2 separate regions of the Homo sapiens genome follow, and region 1 is linked to region 2. Evidence: promoter capture Hi-C in human tissues and cell types (Jung and others, 2019). All regions are on one chromosome and are shown on one strand. The core of a region is centred on a gene start or on the middle of the fragment in contact, and the rest is flanking DNA. Distances in the headings are between cores, read along the strand shown. Region 1 overlaps ZNF7 (zinc finger protein 7). Region 2 holds the start of DGAT1 (diacylglycerol O-acyltransferase 1).

Region 1 (3,489 bases), core at 109-2,608, 510 kb before region 2:
GGCCACCTCTAAGACCACACTGACTTCTTCCCTGGGGCTGCAAGTTTCTGGAGGCCCCCAGGAGGCCTTCCAGACATCTGCGTTCCTTCTGGACTCTCCAAGTAAGCACAGGCTTCTGTCCTACTCTGTAACCCTAGAGGGCACCTCTGCTGAGGTCAGACATCTCCTTGATGTCTGTGATCAAACCATGACAGGATGCAACCACAACACACGGCTATGATCATGACAACCACGGTCCCCACCACGACACAATCACGTTCACAACCACAACCACGCAGCCACAGCTATAACCAGCCCGAGTCTACCCCACATGAATGCACAGCCCAGTTACAGGGCTTCAAGCTTCGGTTCCTGCCCACTCCTAACCATTGGTGGTGAGTCTCCGGCTTCCAGGGATCTCCAAAGGTCTTCCTATCAGTCCTGGAGAATCAGAGCAGGAAGCCCTTTCAACCTCATTGTGTAGCAGGGATGCTCAAGGCCTGTGAGGACAGGAGGCATCTCCAGGCCTGGTCCTCATGTGCTGCTTTCCCTGCACAACCACACCACCTCAGCATGCCTGCTCTTTCAACAGGGCTTGCTTGACACTCCTCCCAAGCCTTCCCCTGCTGTGAAGATAAGAGAGCAGGGTGGCCAGGTGCAGTGGCTCACGCCTGTAATCCCGGCTACTTGGGAGGCTGAGGCACAAGAATCACTTGAACCTGGCAGGCAGAGGTTGCAGTGAGCCAAGATCATGCCACTGCACTCCAGCCTGGGCAACAAAGACTCCATCTCAAAAAATAAAAAAATAAAGAGCAGCGGCAGAGAGAGCAGGGCCAAGCTGACAGCAAGGCTTTGTTGGGGGATGCCAGGAACCACCCAGCAGGGGGCACGGTGGTGGTCAAAAGCGTGGGGGTGCACAGCTGGGACCTGGCCGCTCCTCCACTGCTCTGGGCCAATATCTTTCAGTATCTGATGCTGACTGTACCAGCTGGGGACAAGTAACATATCTGGGCATTTCTGCCTTGCTTCATGTATTCTGGTTTTGTGCTGCTGCATGTTTTATCTAAGAGGCTACATCCCTGCCCCGGACTCTCAGGTCTGCGAGCAAGTGCTGGGTCCATCAACAGCAGCTCTCACCTACTGTGGGATTCTATTTTTTTGTTGTTGCTTTATCACAGTGAGGACCACCTGCTACATATAAACCCACTGAACTATTTCTGCCAACTGTAGCTGGCTTTTCTGCCATGGCACCCTCTTTAAACGCTCCTGTCCATGTTGGAGACATTTTAATGGGCGGCTGGGTTTTAACTGGGCCACCTTATAGCTGAACCTCCTTCTCAGGGAGACTGAGCAGAAAGGATCACATGGGAGTAGCCAGCAGAGCCAGTGAGGCCAGGGTTCCTGACCACTCTTCCCACACATCACATGCAGACTTCCTGGGCGGCTGCAAGGCCCACAGGGCGTGAAGAGGCTCAGAAACCCTCCTTGTCCTTTGAAGCTGCCTAGGGGCATATGAATGGAAGTAAGGTCACAGCCCCTAGGCGCATATGAATGGAAGTAAGGTCACAGCCCCTAGGCGCATATGAATGGAAGTAAGGTCACAGCCCCTAGGCGCATATGAATGGAAGTAAGGTCACAGCCCCTAGGCGCATATGAATGGAAGTAAGGTCACAGCCCCTAGGCGCATATGAATGGAAGTAAGGTCACAGCCCCTAGGCGCATATGAATGGAAGTAAGGTCACAGCCCCTAGGCGCATATGAATGGAAGTAAGATCACAGCCCCTGCTTTTTTTTTTTTTTTTTTTTTGAGACGTCATCTCGCTCTGTCGCCCAGGCTGGAGTGCAGTAGCGCAATCTCGGCTCACTGCAAGCTCTGCCTCCTGGGCTCACACCATTCTCCTGCCTCGGCCTCCCGAGTAGCTGGGACTACAGGCGCCTGCCACCACGCCTGGTTAATTTTTTGTATTTTTAGTAGACACAGGGTTTCACCGTGTTGGCCAGGATGGTCTCGATCTCCTGACCTCGTGATCCGCCCACCTCGGCCTCCCAAATCGCTAGAATGGCCGGCGTGAGCCACCATGCCCGGCTCCACGGCCCCTACTTTTCACAACTTTGGACTGTCCAACTTGCTTCCCGAGGCCCCTACAAGCCGGTGGCCTCTGTAGGACCTGGTCCTGCCCTGCTGCAGGAGTGACGGTGATGACCCAGCAGCAACTGAAAGGGAGGTGAGGGGCTTCCTTTCTGCAGCTGAGATGCACGCAGACCCATCTCCCTTGTCATGCTGGGCAGCACACCGGCTAAGCAGGGGAGCAGAGCACCAGGCCGGGCGCCTGCCCAGCAGGAGCTGATGCCGGAGGCAGTGGGTGCCCTGGTTAGGGCTGAGGACCCCAAGATAGGCTGAAGTCCTAACTTGAAGCACCTCAGAATGTGACCTTGTTTGGAAACACAGTCGTTGCAGATTAATTAGTCACCATGAGGTCACTGGGGTGGCCCCTAACCCACCATGACTGGTGTCCTTCTAAGGAGATGGCCACATGAACACAGACACGCAGGGAGAAGGCAGCCGTGTGAAGGAGTCGGAGATCAGAGTGAGGGACGCATCCACAAGCCAAGGAACCCAAGGACTGCCAGAAAACCACCAGCTGCCCGGAGAGGCAGGACAGGATCCTTCCCTAAAGCCTTCACAGGGGGGCACGGCCCTGCTTGCTGACCCCCCGGTTTCAGATTTCCGGCCTCCACAGCTGTGAGACAATAAATTTCTGTTGTTTTAAGCTTCCTAGTCTGTGGTTCATTGTTATGGCAGCCACAGGAAAGTAATGCACTCCTGGAGCCTGAGAGGGTCTGAAGGGAGCTGCCTCAGGGAATATGCTTACCCGAGGAGAGGTTACTGAATGCCAAACCTAACCCTTCACTTGGATCCATAGGTTTGTATCTTTGCTTAACGAAAGTATGAGTAAAATTAAAAATAGAACAAAATGTGACATGATTCAAAAACAAGCTCCGTTTTTGTGGAAATGCATGGGTTTTTGTGTCTTGGCTCTTCTGCAGTTTGGCCTCTCCCAAGGCAGCCCCACAACGGGTCTATGCTCCCTTCTAGGTGCTGGATGCTGCTTCCCCAGTAGCATTCCCAGGCATCCCAGTGTAGCCCCCGCGACTCACCCACAGCTACCCACAGTTGTGAGGCCCCTCCTGCAGTTTCTCCTCACCCCAGGGCTTCTCTGCGATGGGATCTAAGCCTCACCTGTCTTGGAGGTCCTTGGTGCCTCTGTCCCCTCTGCTCCCTGCAGGTCGAGGACCCATGGCTCTTCTCCCTGCTCCAGCCGAGAGATCAGCTCAGGCTTGAAAACCAGGAATCCTGCTGTGTGTGCGGCAGAGAAGACAACAGTGTCAGCATGACGGGAAGTGTGCAGCACAGGGCTAAGTCTTCCCCAGTTTCCAAATGGAAAGGGGCAGGGGGGCTACAAGGCACAGGCCAAGCTCCTGCAGGGAGAGTGGGTGGAGGGTGGGGAG
Region 2 (3,581 bases), core at 355-2,854:
GACCAGCCCACGGGAGAGGACCCCACCTCAGGAGGAGCACCTGTTTGCTTCCAGAGAAGTGCTGCTTGCCCCTGCTCACCCCAGAGGAATGAAGGTGTTTCTAGAGTCAGAGTCCTCAGTGAACCCTGGCATCCTGAGATCCAGGATGTTCTCACTCCATGCCCTGTGCAATATGCACACCAAGCCAAGGTGGGCCGCAACTGTGGCTGTTACAGTTGATTAGTTGCTTCATTTAACATACAAGATGTCTGGGGCAGTGGCTCATACCTGTAATCCCAGCACCTTCAGAGGCCGAGGTGGGAGGATTGCGTGAGGCCAGGAGTTCGAGACCAGCCTGGGCAGAATAGCGAGACCCCCATCTTTAGAAAAAATAACAACAGGCCAGGCGCGGTGGCTTGCGCCTATAATCCCAGCACTTTGGGAGGCCGAGGTGGGCGGATCACGAGGTCAGGAGATCGAGACCAGCCTGGCCAATATGGTGAAAGCCCGTCTCTACTAAAAACAGAAAAATTAGCTGGGCGTGGTGGCACGCGCCTGTAGTCCTGGCTACTCGGGAGGCTGAGGCAGGAGAATCGCTTGAACCCAGGAGGTGGAGGTTGCAGTGAGACGAGATCGCGCTACTGCACTCCAGCCTGGCGACAGAGTGAGACTGTCTCAAAAAAAGAAAAAAGAAAACAAAAAACAACAGGGCGGTTGCACAGGCCGTGCAAATGCACAGAAGCCTCTTGAGTCCCGGCGATCCAGCGGCCCAGACTTCTGACATCCTGGAGAGGCTGGCCCACGTTGGAAACTGGGAGGCCCTGAGAGTTGAGGGACGTGGAGCTCCTTGTGGAGAGAGTGGGTGGGCTGAGAAGACACCACCAAGGGGCCTGCGCCCTCGCCCTCGCCCTCGCCCTCCTCTCGCCGGGCTCTGCAGGCGGGGAGGTGGAGAGCCTGGGAGTCGCGTGCAAGGCAGGCGTCCCGGTGACGCAGGGCCTGGTGCATTTCTCCAGCTTGGTCTTCTGACCTGGCCCTTGTCTGACGTCCCCCTAAGGCGAAGAAAAGCAGGTTCCTGCCGGGGTAACCAGAGGGCTCGCGGAGCAGAAGCGCGCCAGGGACGTTACTGTAAGCTGCGTGCGCAGAAACCAACGCGCTGGGTGGCGGGCGACGCGAGCCGCCGCGGACACCGGCCCGGACAGCTGGACCGTGGCGCACTAGGCGCTTCCTAAATGATTGCCCGGAGTGACTCGCCGAGACCCCGTGTGTACACAAGTGGGACGAGGGGCGGGCGCACAGCGGCCAGGAAGTCGGGGCCCAGCGCACCCCTCAGCGGACCATCCCGCTCCGTGGGGCCGGACAGGACCCCGGGACCACGCGGGAGCGATGCAAGGTCCGTTCCCGCTGCGCGCACTTGCGGCCCGCAGCCCCGGCCCTGGGAGCTGCCACGGCTCCCAGGGTGCTCTGCGCCGGTGCGGCCGCGGCGACTACGACTCCCAGGGTGCTCTGCGCCGGCGCGCCCGCGGCGACTACGACTCCCAGGGTGCCCTGCGCCCCGTCAGCCTCTCCAGGCCCCGCCTCAGGTCGGCCGCGGACTACAAATGGACGAGAGAGGCGGCCGTCCATTAGTTAGCGGCTCCGGAGCAACGCAGCCGTTGTCCTTGAGGCCGACGGGCCCGACGCGGGCGGGTTGAACGCGCTGGTGAGGCGGTCACCCGGGCTACGGCGGCCGGCAGGGGGCAGTGGCGGCCGTTGTCTAGGGCCCGGAGGTGGGGCCGCGCGCCTCGGGCGCTACGAACCCGGCGGGCCCACGCTTGGCTGCGGCCGGGTGCGGGCTGAGGCCATGGGCGACCGCGGCAGCTCCCGGCGCCGGAGGACAGGGTCGCGGCCCTCGAGCCACGGCGGCGGCGGGCCTGCGGCGGCGGAAGAGGAGGTGCGGGACGCCGCTGCGGGCCCCGACGTGGGAGCCGCGGGGGACGCGCCAGCCCCGGCCCCCAACAAGGACGGAGACGCCGGCGTGGGCAGCGGCCACTGGGAGCTGAGGTAGCGGAGCGCCTGACCCCCTAACCTCTGACCCAAGGGCCCCGCGACTTTCCGGGGTTGGCCGAAGCGCGAGCTCCGAGTCCGAGAACATGGGCCCTGGGCTAAGCGGGGATCGGTGTGCCCTATGGGCCCTGTGGGGAAACTGAGGCTTGGGGAGAGTCACCTGACAAGGTCACTGGGTAGGGGCTCTGGAGCTGGCCTTGGCCAGGCAGAGGGGAGCCGGCAGGTGTCCCGCATCCAGATCCTCTTGGGTCTGTGCATCCTCAGGGGCTCCTGAGGAGCTTTTCGAGGGGCGGGCTGGTGGGGGCCCGGCCCTGGACAGTGTCCCCTTATATGGAAGGAGTCAGATAAGATCTGGGCAGTTTGTGGTGATAGGTTCCTTCTTGGTGCTATGAGCGGTGCCTTGCGGGTAGGAAAGGCTCCCAGAGGAGGGCTGGCCTGCCAGGGAGGGGGCCAGAGGAGCCCAGGCCTGTCCGAGGACAGGGGAATCAGCAGCTGCCCCGGACAAGGGGCAGTGTTAGAGGCGTTCTTGTCCTTGCAGACCCTTCTGAGAGTGGCTGCGTGGCCCATTCATTGCTCCAGTGGTTAGGCTGGCCTGGAGCCCTGCCGATGTTGCCAGAGCCAGCGTCTGTTGTAGGGACAGAGAGTTGGGTTCTGTGTTGGGACTTCCATCCTCCAGGTGGGGAGTGGGGTATGGGGGTGGTGGACACACCTGCAGGCGTGTGCCCTGCTCAGCTGGATGACTGACAGAGAGGGGTGGAGGGAGAGAACCATGGCCGATGGGAAGGACTTGGCCAGCCTGGGCATTGGCTTCCTCCACCAAGCTGGCCTTGAGCAATCCCCTTGCCACCCTCCATCCCCCCTTTATGGCCTTTACCCTGGCCCAGGGGCCCTCAGGGCTTTGTTTTAGAGAGCAGCTGAGGGCCTAGAGGTTATCAAGGCAGAAGTGGGCTGATTTTGGACATGTAGTTGGCAATGATTTGCTCTCTCAGTGAGCAAGAACAGAGCTTTCCTTCACGGGGCACCATGGGGAGGGGGTTGGGGGAGGGCAGGCACTGTCGTGGCCCTCAGGGTGCTCAGTTCATCTGGGAGATAAGATAACCTCAGCGAGAGTCAGGCATGGAGCAACATGGACAAAGGTCGGGCACGGAGGCCTTGAAGGGGCCGTGGGGAGGAGGGTGGCCCTCCTGAGAGGGGTGCTTGCCTGCTGTGGGCCTGGGGTGCTGGTGAGGGAGGCTGGCCTAGGCACCTCCTACCTGAAAAGGAGGTGTGGCTCCTGGAGTTACCCTCTCTCCAGGAGGCAGGGGGATGGCTACATGACCTGTGGAGGACGTGGGAATTGAGATTTCTTTTTTTTTCTTTTCTTTTTTTTTGAGACTAGTTTTGCTCTTGTTGCCCAGGCTGGAGTAAAATGGCACATTCTTGGCTCACTGCAACCTCTGCCTCCCAGGTTCAAGTGATTCTCCTGCCTCAGCCTCCAGAGTAGCTGGGATTAGAGGCGCCCACCACACCCGGCTAATTTTGTATTTTTAGTAGAGATGGGGTTTCTCCATGTTGGTCAG

What was found. Contacts are between HindIII fragments. The study calls those that stand out against the background at their distance.
Region 1: a contact is called between a fragment that was not itself captured here and the fragment with the promoter of DGAT1 in region 2, in 2 of the 25 tissues and cell types used here (dorsolateral prefrontal cortex and spleen).

Annotation. Positions count from the first base shown.
Region 1 is chr8:144,837,239-144,840,727 of GRCh38, reverse strand. It overlaps ZNF7 (zinc finger protein 7), which reads right to left. Exons shown (of 5, transcript NM_003416.4): 4 at 3,221-3,337. It also overlaps a transcript of COMMD5 not described here. Among named protein-coding and RNA genes, the nearest start is that of ZNF7, 11 kb to the right of the region's middle. RefSeq lists an enhancer at 1,322-1,875. The HindIII fragment of the contact is 3,694 bases long and covers 1-3,205 here.
Region 2 is chr8:144,324,875-144,328,455 of GRCh38, reverse strand. DGAT1 (diacylglycerol O-acyltransferase 1) reads left to right here and starts at 1,604. Exons shown (of 17, transcript NM_012079.6): 1 at 1,604-2,019. The coding sequence starts at 1,820. RefSeq lists silencers at 1,178-1,897, 1,908-1,977. The HindIII fragment of the contact is 53,552 bases long and covers 1-3,581 here.